3 separate regions of the Homo sapiens genome follow, and all the other regions are linked to region 2. The links are contacts of gene promoters, found by promoter capture Hi-C in blood cells and fetal thymus (Javierre and others, 2016). All regions are on one chromosome and are shown on one strand. Each heading gives the region's core, a stretch centred on a gene start or on the middle of the fragment in contact. The rest is flanking DNA. Distances are from core to core; before and after follow the strand shown.

Evidence for each region. The method cuts DNA at HindIII sites, captures the fragments that hold promoters and counts their contacts. A CHiCAGO score of 5 or more calls a contact.
Region 1: a fragment that was not itself captured here is called in contact with the fragment with the promoter of KDM5D in region 2 in 1 of 17 cell types (fetal thymus); the score reaches 5.8 in fetal thymus.
Region 3: a fragment that was not itself captured here is called in contact with the fragment with the promoter of KDM5D in region 2 in 1 of 17 cell types (neutrophils); the score reaches 7.0 in neutrophils.

What each region holds. Positions count from the first base shown.
Region 1 is chrY:20,653,233-20,656,989 of GRCh38, reverse strand. No RefSeq gene overlaps it. Among named protein-coding and RNA genes, the nearest start is that of EIF1AY, 79 kb to the right of the region's middle. The HindIII fragment of the contact is 1,047 bases long and covers 952-1,998 here.
Region 2 is chrY:19,742,730-19,746,134 of GRCh38, reverse strand. It overlaps KDM5D (lysine demethylase 5D), which reads left to right and starts at 1,409. Exons shown (of 27, transcript NM_004653.5): 1 at 1,409-1,464; 2 at 1,582-1,750; 3 at 2,896-2,973. The coding sequence starts at 1,601. KDM5D-DT (KDM5D divergent transcript) reads right to left here and starts at 1,350. Exons shown (of 3, transcript XR_938630.4): 1 at 422-1,350. The HindIII fragment of the contact is 5,320 bases long and covers 1-2,032 here.
Region 3 is chrY:19,073,512-19,077,180 of GRCh38, reverse strand. It overlaps TTTY14 (testis expressed transcript, Y-linked 14), which reads left to right. Exons shown (of 3, transcript NR_125735.1): 1 at 1-136. Among named protein-coding and RNA genes, the nearest start is that of TTTY14, 2.2 kb to the left of the region's middle. The HindIII fragment of the contact is 8,631 bases long and covers 1-3,669 here.

The DNA.
Region 1 (3,757 bases), core at 226-2,725, 910 kb before region 2:
TACTTGATTATTTTTTCTTATTCCTAATAATCTGACTTTGATGTTTATAGTTTATTTTAGCTTAATTTTGTTCTTGGTGCTTGTAGTGGTGATGACCCTGTATGAGTTTTTTTTACTTATAGAGCGTCCTTTTGTGCTGGCTTTCTGAGATGCTGGTTGTAGTAGTAATGTTCTTGGTATGTGGATGAGTTCACTGGCTTCTATGGTTTTGGAATGGCAGGGATCTCTTGAAGCTTAGCTCATTCTCAAGTGGTATACATTTCACTTATTTATTTAATTTTCCCCCTAAAATGTGTACATTTCATTTATTTATTTAATTTCCCCCCAGGATTTTATTTACTGAGTTGATGATTCAGTCAATAGGGCAGGTAACCCTGGGTAGACACTGGTTGTAGCTAATGTGGGTAGATCTAGGAAGATGTAATACCCAGTGTTGGGTAGAGGTTCCAACCTTTGATGAAGGTGGCTGTGGGAGCTCTCAATTAGATGTGCTGAGGATTTATCAAAGTGAAGGGGAGAGCTACTTTAGCACCCCTGCCAGACAAGGAGAAAAGTTATCTGCCTCTCAGCCTCATTCCTGTCCCATATTTTAGCTTTTCAGATCAAACAGGTACCTCTTATCATCCATAGGAACGTTTATGTTCCAAGTAGACAGAAATTGTGACTCTGCCTGTTGTGCGGGTCTGAATCAGGGAAGCACTCCTCCTGCGGGGATGCAATTACCCTGAATTGTTCCCGGAAGTTTGCCTGTAGATTAATTCATGCTGCATCCCATAAGACAAGCCCCAGCTCTGTCTGCAAAGGTATACGGTGTGGCAGGGGGTGGGAGTGGGAACAGACCTCTTCTCCAAGCCTCTTTACAATCACGGAGGTTGCCTGCCTGTTGGGGTAGAGGTACAGAATTTCCCTGCTTTAACTAGCACTGCAATTATGTCTTTGCTGTAAGAAGCTTCCCACCAGTGGGAAAGATAATGGATGGAAGGCCTTCCACCCAGATTCCTTTGTCCCACTGGGTGTTCCCTTGATATGGTGCACGATCCTTCCTTCTCCTGTGAATGGAACTTTCTGAGAGCTGCACTGCATTTATTGTTATTGCTCTTCTGAGTCTAGCTACCCAGATGGGCTGCCAAACTTCAAGCTCGTGCTGGGAAATGTCTGGAAGGGATCTAGTGATGCAACCTGACTTCAGGTCTCCTAGTAGTAGATACCAGTGCCTGCTCCCTTAGAGGTGGCAGGGGAATGACATACACCATTTGATTCCTTAGTTGTATATAAACTTAATGTGATGGCTTTCTTGAATGCTGATTTTAATTGTAATGAACTTGTAACATGTACACACTTATGACCTGTCATTGGCCAGGTTTTTGTAGGCAGTGGTGTTAGCTGAGATTCCCATAACTATTTTCTCACTCCTAGGAGCAGTGCTCTTCTGCTGAGAGATGCTGTAATGGCCTAAGCAGTTTGGCCTCCCACCAAGAGATGGCATATAAAAGAGAGCACCAGCTGTGGTAGTAGCAGTAAGATTTGTGCTTACTTTGTTTTTCTGTAGAAGTATTCTGGGTTCTCAGGTGATAGATGGGGTCATAAAACTCCTAAAAGTTTATGTTATTTGTGTTAAGCTACCAGGGTAGGTAGAGAAATACCATTAGGTGGGGTCAGTGTTAGGTATGAGCTCACACTCTCCTTGGGCAGGGCCAGCTGTGGCCACTGTGTTTATCAGGTCACTAGGTAATATTCCAGAAAGTAATATTCCACTAGGTAATATTCCAGAAGAAAATATCCAGGTCACTAGGTAATATTCCAGAAGGGAGTAAAACTGCCTCTGCTGGGCAGTAAAGTTCACAAATGGTGTGGGGAGTAGCAGGAAATTATAAGCCTCACCCAGGTCCCAAAAACCTGACAAAGCTGGTCTCACCTGAACAGTGCCCCATTAACAGCACCTTGTTTAAATCCAGGTAGCTTGCACACACAACTCAGATCTTCCCCACTTTGTAAGCTTCCCTGCAGAGATAACAACCTTGATTTCTATTCCATGACCCTCTATGTCTTCATGTGAAGCTGGCTGCCCAGCTCCTGTGCTCCTGTCTACAGTATCCTCACACTTGTCCCCAGTTGTGTTCGAGGAAGTTTCTCCCCATTTAGAGAATTACAAAATTCACTTGGGAGCTCCTTCCACACTGTGACACTCCCTGATCTCATTGTTTGACTTTCATGAAGGCCCTTGTGAGTTGTAGTCATGGATGACTTCCCTCAGCTCATGCTGGATACTAGGAATGCGTACAAGGTTCTTTCTGCTGCTGCTTCTACTTTTACATTTCATGTGGCCCCCTAAATCTCTTTGGGTAGGGTTAAGGGCTTCTCCTGTAATCTGGATGTTCAGATTACCTAGGGTTGTGTGCTCAGATGCAGGCTTTCTAACTTTAACACTCTGGAAACATTTTTTTACCTGCTTCATAGAGTAGGAATCAGCTTGCCACTTCTTTTTTTTTTTTTTTTTTTTTTTTTTTTTGAGACGGAGTCTCGCTCTGTCGCCCAGGCCGGACTGCGGACTGCAGTGGCGCAATCTCGGCTCACTGCAAGCTCCGCTTCCCAGGTTCACGCCATTCTCCTGCCTCAGCCTCCCCAGTAGCTGGTACTACAGGCGCCCGCCACTACGCCCGGCTAATTTTTTGTATTTTTAGTAGAGACGGGGTTTCACCTTGTTAGCCAGGATGGTCTCGATCTCCTGACCTCATGATCCACCCGCCTCGGCCTCCCAAAGTGCTGGGATTACAGGCGTGAGCCACCGCGCCCGGCCGCCACTTCTTTTAAAGGTTGTGTGGATTCTTTCAGTTTTCCTATTAAGATTCAAAGTGGTACTTGAAAAAAACAATTCATAGTGTGAATTTCTACCCTCTATTTTTTCTTTCAAGGGTGAAAGGCATGCTAACACTACCTCCTGTCTGCCATTTTGAAAAATAAATGGGTATATAAATTTATTAACATGTATGAGCATTATATAAAACATAAAAATTCAAATAAACAGCCAGATCTTTAATGCTTTTATACTAATTGAGCTTAGAGGAAAAAATGGATGCTTGAAGCATGAAAAAACAAGTTACAGTGAGCAAACTATAATCCAAAAAATTATGTCAAATTGCAACTAGAACTAAAGATGCTTAAGTTATAGAAAGAGGAGAAGAGAAGGCCTAGCTAGCAAACTTTATCTTGTTATATAGATTAAATCTCATAGAAGGCAGTCCTCAGATAGAATAGTACATTTTTTTTTCCAGCTTTTTAAATTTGTCACTCAGTATTTCTAAGTCTGGCTGCATTAATGTAAATTTTCTATGCAAATATGACTCTTTTTTAAAAAAAAAAAAAAAAAAAACAGCTTTGAGGATTTCTTCTCCTTGCAGGCCCTTTGCATAGCCATCTCAAATATATCAAATAAAAATATTTCAAAGTAAAATATTTTGATTTCCTTCAGTCCTCTCTATAAAACTTTTACATTTAGAACATTTGAGATATTAAAAGCAGAGTTTGAGAAGCTTAAGTCAGAAGTTTTGATAAGAGACATAGAAAGAAGGGGGAAAAGATTGTGATAAGTAGAAAAGAATAAATATTATGTATTTTATTTAATATCTTGTTGAATTAATCTCTGATTCCTGAGAATATATCAGTAAAATTAAACAAATGTATTTCACTTCAAAAGATGGCATTGCAAAATGTCTCTCACAGTTAAGACTCACTATATGATCGATGTAAATATATATAC
Region 2 (3,405 bases), core at 160-2,659:
AAAGTAGAAATTGAAATATCTATTTACTAATGAATTCATAAAATATAAAGCTGTATTATAATGAATTATCTTGAACAGAGAAAAAAGATCTCATCATTTGAAATAATACAGGCTCTATAACTAATTTTATGAAATAGAACTCTATAACTCTAACTTTATGAAACAGAAAAAGTATGTAGATAAAACTAGGAAAAAGAAAGCAGAAAATTAAGTAACAACTTTTGAAACAGGAATATATATGTAATGTAGTATAATAAACTCATGAAGCCGATAATCTAGATGAAATGGATAAATTGTTAAAAAAAAAAACGGAAATGCCAAGAATCGTACAATACGAAACAATTGTCAAACTATCAAACTTTAAGGCACTTCTGGCAGTGCCCTTCCAAATAAAATCTACCATTTGATTTTTAAAACTTACCTTTTGCGTATTTTTCAAAAATATATGGAGAACAAAAAGATACTACAGTAGTGAACTGATTAAAAAAAAACAGAATAGCAATGTAGGGGGATTTTTGCTTAACGGGTGTAAAATATTGTAAATAAAATTATAGGAAATAAAGTGTAACATCTTGTTTTGAAATAAAACATCGCAATAAAGTATAATTTCCCTTAAAAACAGCATGATATTTCCACATCAAAAAACGGATCATTAGCAGTGTGTTTCTTTTGATTTATGGTACGTGTGTTTAGCGATGTTGAAGGTTTACTGTAATCTGTCCAGGTCTTTGTGATCATTTTAAAATTTAGGGTGCTCCTAGGTAATTTTTAAGGGATGTTTATCATGTGCAGTAAAGGTTTTATTCAAAAACATTTAGCACTTCTTTTCCCCGTCCTAAAGTCCAAGCTCGAGTTGGTAAAAAATCCAACGACAAATGTGCCCACTTGAAGTGCACTGTTAATGCAACAGTTTACAAGAACATAAATACATTGTACCGGCATCCTGCCTCCTAAACGTCTTGTGACAGGAACGTTCTCGAGCTGAGAACCCAGTGAGTCTTCAGAGAATGTTAGTAAACACTTTCACATGAACGGATATCGCCGGCGGTTTGTCCTGGCAGGAAAAAAAAAAGGTGCGTTTCTACGGACATTTCCGCAAAGGAGGAATTTTCTCCGAGAAATCCTTCGTTGATCAGCACCACAGCCTTTTACGGTCCTTCCCTGCAATACGCAGGCGTAACTTGCGCAGTGGTCCCATTTTAAAAAAGATCCGGCCATACTATTTTTATCTTGCTTTTTCGTTCTGTCGCAGTACTGTTTAATATGAGTCCAGCGACGGCTCTGTGACTGTTTTCCTCTGGTAAAATCGCTCTTGCGTCCTCAGCGTTTATCTCAGGTGCGGAAGGTCTCACAGGTTTGGAAATAGCGCCGGAAAAATCGATCCGCGGAGTGAGACGGCTCGTACCACACTGCAGGGCCCGGAGGTCAAGATGGTGGCTGTAAAACTAGGATCCCTGACGATTGGTAAGCAGCTACGGGATTAAAGTAACCTTGAAATTCTCAAGAAAATGAAATTTTCATAGGCCTTTTAGTAGGAGGAACCAGCGCGTCATTAAAGACAATGTGATTCTTATTTTACAGCTTAGCATTAAGGCCCGACATGGAACCGGGGTGTGACGAGTTCCTGCCGCCACCGGAGTGCCCGGTTTTTGAGCCTAGCTGGGCTGAATTCCAAGACCCGCTTGGCTACATTGCGAAAATAAGGCCCATAGCAGAGAAGTCTGGCATCTGCAAAATCCGCCCACCCGCGGTAAGTCTTTGAAACAAAATTTGGGAATGGGTAGCCTTTGGTTTGAACGTTGGGGCAGTTTACCACTTGGCGAGGCGTTATTTACACTCATGACCAGAAACCCTTAGCACCAAATTTCTCATTTAACTTTTCTGACCCGAACAAGCTGGCATCAGAATATTAGTATCAGATCGCCACATTCCACGGGGTTCTAAACATCTGACTGCTGTAGGGACAAAAATATAAGATTCAAATATTTCTACGTTCTGCTGTTATTAAATATAGTTTAGGCATACACAAGCTTTTATTACATTTAACCGCAAAAAAATAGCTTACTCAGAAGTACTTGATCTATGACAGAAGCAAGTTATATAAGCTTGTGTGTTAACCACTTGGACTGGTGTTTTCTTTCTTTGATATGACCTTAGATGTATGTAGCAAATATAGCAAATAATGGGAGTGATGTGGCATCCTTTGCCATCAATTAAATTTATTATTAAACGTAGACCATTTTGGGTTGCTATACTGAAAACTACTAAATGAACCTCGTAGAAGTTTGACTGAATTAAGAATGTAAACTGAAATAAGCCTGGGCTGTCGTCGTGAACAACTAACACAATATTCAGAGAAGTCAAAAAGTTTTCGCAGAGCATACAGCTTTTTTCTCATATATTGAACCAGGCTGCAACGTTATTTTTATGTGGATGTTCGCACTTCTCAGCATTTGCAATTAAACTTTTTCGTACTGCTGGGAGTGGGAAGAGATAATGGCTTAGGTTTTAAAAAGTGAAACAATTTTTTATCTGCATTACATTTATCTTCATTTTAGTAAGGACTCATAACCCAAATAGCATAGTGTTTGTTCAGATGTGCGTCATTCCTTGGAAGTCGAGTCGCTTTCTAGCCTTGGGATTATAGAGGTTTTTTTTTTTTTTTTCGTCTGTTACGAAGGACACATATCAAGGAGAGTTTTGGATTTGCAGGGTTTTTCCTTTTTTTTTTTTTTTTGCAGTTAATCTTGATTATGAAGAAGGAATCATTTGAGGCCCTTGTGTACAAAAATGGTTACCAGAAGACTTTAAAAGAGTGGGAACAAATGATTGTGGTTTTCACTATCTTCATCCTTTACTGTGCCATAGTTACCAGGTCCTTACACTTTCTTCTAGGATTGGCAGCCTCCTTTTGCAGTAGAAGTTGACAATTTCAGATTTACTCCTCGCGTCCAAAGGCTAAATGAACTGGAGGTAAGATTGGGAGGCACACTTTTTTTAAAGGAATCTGATCTTTAATCTTGCCGTTGTAGTTTCATAATAATGTAGAACTTAAGTTTTGAAATCTAATGTATTGAATTTGAACCCGAACTCCACCATTTTCCAGAATACTGATTTTGGAGAAAGTCTTCTATAAAATACATAATTTATGTCCACAAAAATGGTAGAACACAAAGGCTTTAAATATCTGAGGAAGAATGATGCATTGTTTCGCTGTTCAATAGTTTCAGGTTAGAACTATCAAAATGACAGTACCTTTCCCATTTTGTCTTCTCGTACTCACATATTTAATGAATGAATTTTTTTTTTTGAAACAGAGTCTCACCCTGTCTACCAGGCTGGAGTGCAGTGGCGGGATCTCGCCTCACTGCAACCTCCACCTTCCAGGTTCAAGGGATTCTCTTG
Region 3 (3,669 bases), core at 733-3,232, 670 kb after region 2:
AATTCGGCCAGGCCTCGAGCCTGCTCCGCCTTCCCGCTGCGGTAGCGCCGCCGGGGAAACGCCGCCACGGGCTGCATGGGCAGCGCTCGCGCCCCGCCGCTGAGCCGCCGGGGAGCCGTCCAGTCTTCGAATCCCAGTAAGAGACGCCGCTGGCCTAGGGACAGTGGTTGGGGCTGGCCCGGGGCATTCGCGCGGCCTTGCAGCCTGCAGGCCTTCCCAGCCGACAGAGCTGCTGTGTGGGCCTTGGGTCAGGCCTGGAGGGCCGGGATCGGGGTGGGCGGTGGACTTTGGGGGCTCGGGGAGGTCGTGAAGGGCCAACAGGGGGCTCCAAGCGGGCTTGGGAGCTCGAGGGGCTCGGAGCGACGGTTAGGGGGACCCGAGGCCGCTGTGCGGGGCGGACGGGGGGCTCCGGGGCGGGGCTGGCGGGGCAGAAGGTCCCCAGGGGGCTGTGGGGGACCGACTGGGGGCTTCCGGGAGCGCCTGGGGGTTCTGGGAGCCCGGGGGCTGCTGTGAGGGGCTGCCGAGGGGGGCCCTGGGCAGGTGTTGACTGCTGCGGAACTCGGGGGGCGCCGACTTCTAACACACAACAGGGGCGCCTTCGCTGTTCGGTTCTGGTCGTAGTTGTTATTCTCAGCGTCCCTATTATTATTAGTAGTAGTATTCTTTTTATTTTATTTATTTATTTATTTTTGAGACGGAGTCTTGCTCAGTCGCTCAGGCTACAGTGCAATGGCGCGATCTCAGCTCACTGCAAGTTCCGCCTCCCGGGTTCACGCCATTCTCCTGCCTCAGTCTCCCGAGTAGTTAGGACTACGGGCGCCCCCACCATGCCTAGCTAAATTTTTTTGGTATTTTTAGTAAAGACGGGGTTTTACCGTGTTAGCCAGGATGGTCTCGATCTCCTGACCTCGTAATCCGCTCACCTTGGCCTCCCAAAGTGCTGGTATTACAGGAGTGAGCCACTGCGCCTGGCCAGCGTTCCTATTATTATTGCTCTTCTGGAATGAGAGCAGGCAGCTGCCGGGATCCCAGCCGGAAGGGGCGGGCGAAAGGCAGGGTTGCTGGGGGCGGGCGAAAGGCAGGGTTGCTGGAGGCGCGCGTAGGTTCGAGTAGGGACTGGAATGCGGGCCAACAGTGTGGGGGTTATTAGGGGGGAGGGTAGGCAGGTCGGAGGAGGGAGTTGGGAGGAAAGCGGCGGCGGTGGCGGCTTCAACAGCAGCTCTTGCCCTTAAGGAACAATGTGAGACGTTGCCTGAAATGTTAATTTCCGTTTCTCATTTCATCATCCAGGGCGTTGGGGAAGGGAGTGGGGAGTGATGTGAGAGTGTGTGTATGTGTGTCCCTGCCACTTGGATTCTGTGTGTGTGTGTGTCCCTGCCACATTCAGTCGTGTGTGTGTCCCTGCCACATGGATTCAGTCTTGTGTGTGTGTGTCCCTGCCACATTGATTCAGTCCTGTGTGTGTGTATGTGTGTGTGTCCGTACCTGCCACATTGTTTCAATCCCCTCTCAGAGGGATTGTGCTGTTAACGCTTGTATCTGTGTCATTTGGGAAGGTCGGTGGCAGGGGAGTCTAGGTTTTTCTCTAGGCCTGCTCTTTTCCTGGTGCCCGATTGACGTTTTCTGCTTCTGTTGTGTTTTTGAAAGGTATTCTTGTATACGAGTTCCAAGAAGTTTTGGAAGACACTGGGAAAATGAAGATTCTCTGACAGCTCCCTTTGCTTTAACTATTTTTCTTATAACAGTTAAGATGTAACATGCTTAGGTTTCATGGTTTTTGCAGGTTATGAGTAGTTTTGTATCCATTTGCAAGAACTGGATTTTTTTTTTTTTTTTGGTAGAGAAATCAGATTTCAGGCTTTCTTACATGAGGAGAGAGTTTCATGCGGTGATTTGAGCAATATCCTTTACACTTGAAATGAGAAATAAAATTGTTCACAATTGTTGAACTGCAAAACTTAGAATCTTTTGATCCTTTTTGAGGCAATGAGACTTATTCAGCCAACATGTAAGATGATATTGCTTGTGGAAAAAGTACTATTGAAACAGTTACTATTTTTGTTGTGTGCAAATGCCATTAATGGCATAACTAGGATAGTTCAAAATCAGAGACCCTGAGATTTTATTTGGCGTCTCTGAGCTCTTGATTTCTTTTATTAAATGTTGGCTGCGTGGAATACTTAGAGTTCTGTTAGTGTCTTTTGAGAGTGATTGAGCAAGTCCTGTAATATTACTTTGCAACTGGTACTTTGGTGTTTTACATAGTAAAATTAATGGTTCATCAAATGTAAGAGGAAATTTACTTTGCATATGGGCAATGAGCCCATCATCCATTAAATAACAGAGAGAGTATCAGTAAATGCTGGTTCAGAAAATAATCTACATTTGGTTGCCAAAATAAGTGTTTAGGTCTGTCCATTACCTTGTATAAGTCTCTTCATCGGTCAAATGGTAAGTGTAGTGGATGAGTGTTATTTAATAGCAAGGTATTTGCTAGTGAATAGGTGAAGATACATTGCTTATCTAACAGCATGTTGTATCAACTTATTTAAATTGCTGTGTAGTCAGTGTTCTGTAGGAATTGTGACCCGTTTGGTAAACTTTATAGAAAAATTGAATGAATTCAAATAACTAAAAGTTACTGTTTTGAAATGTTGAAATGTTTTCAGTGTGTGTTTTTTTAATTTAAATTTTAAATGGAATGTCTGTGCAATTCAACTTTCTAGCTTTTATCGTAAAACCATATGAAAGAAGGTGTCAATCTTCAGCTCTTGGAACTCAGGCAACTAAATAATTGCCTTAGAAAGCATTTTTTTTTTTTTTTGAGGTGGAGTTTCGCTGGTTGTCCAGGCTGGAATGCAATGGTGCAATGTCCGCTCACTCCAACCTCCACCTCCCTGGTTCAAGTGATTCTCCTGCCTCAGCCTCCTGAGTAGCTGGGATTACAGACATGTGCCACAATGCCTGGCTAATTTTTGTTTCACCGTGTTGGCCAGGCTGGTCTTGAACTCCTGACCTCACGTGATCCACCCGCCTCGGCCTCCCAAAGTGCTGGGATTACAGGCGTGAGCCATGGCACCTGACCCCCATAGAAGCCATTTTAGCCTTAGAACATGATCCACTTTAATGATCACTTCATTAATTTTGATAGACGTTTCTATTATTTTATTGTGTATTATTTGTTCATTTGTTTTTGAGATGGAGTCTCATTATGTCACCCAGCTGGAGTGCTGCAACCTCGGCTCGCTGCAACCTCTGCCTCCCATGTTCAAGTGATTCTCCTGCCTCTTGCTTTTCGTAATATAGAGACAGGGTCTCTATGTTGCCCAGGCTGGTCTTGTACTCCTGGGCTCAAGTGAGCTGCCCACCTCAGCCTCCCATGTTACTGGGATTACAGGCAGGAACCACTACATCCGGCCCAGGGGTTCTATTATTAAGTGGCTTTTATTTGTTTGAGAAACCTTTTTCATGGCATCTCTTAACCTAGAGTCAGATTCAGCTTATATTGTTTTATGTATGTATAAGGCAGAACTTCAGATGTTATTTTTTTTAATAACATCCCAAATGATGATTGTGGCCTAATTCTGAATACATGCCTCATTCTTTTACCCCGCCTCAGGCCTCCAGTCGGATCCTGCGTCATTCTGGCTGCCTTGGCCTTTCCTTTCC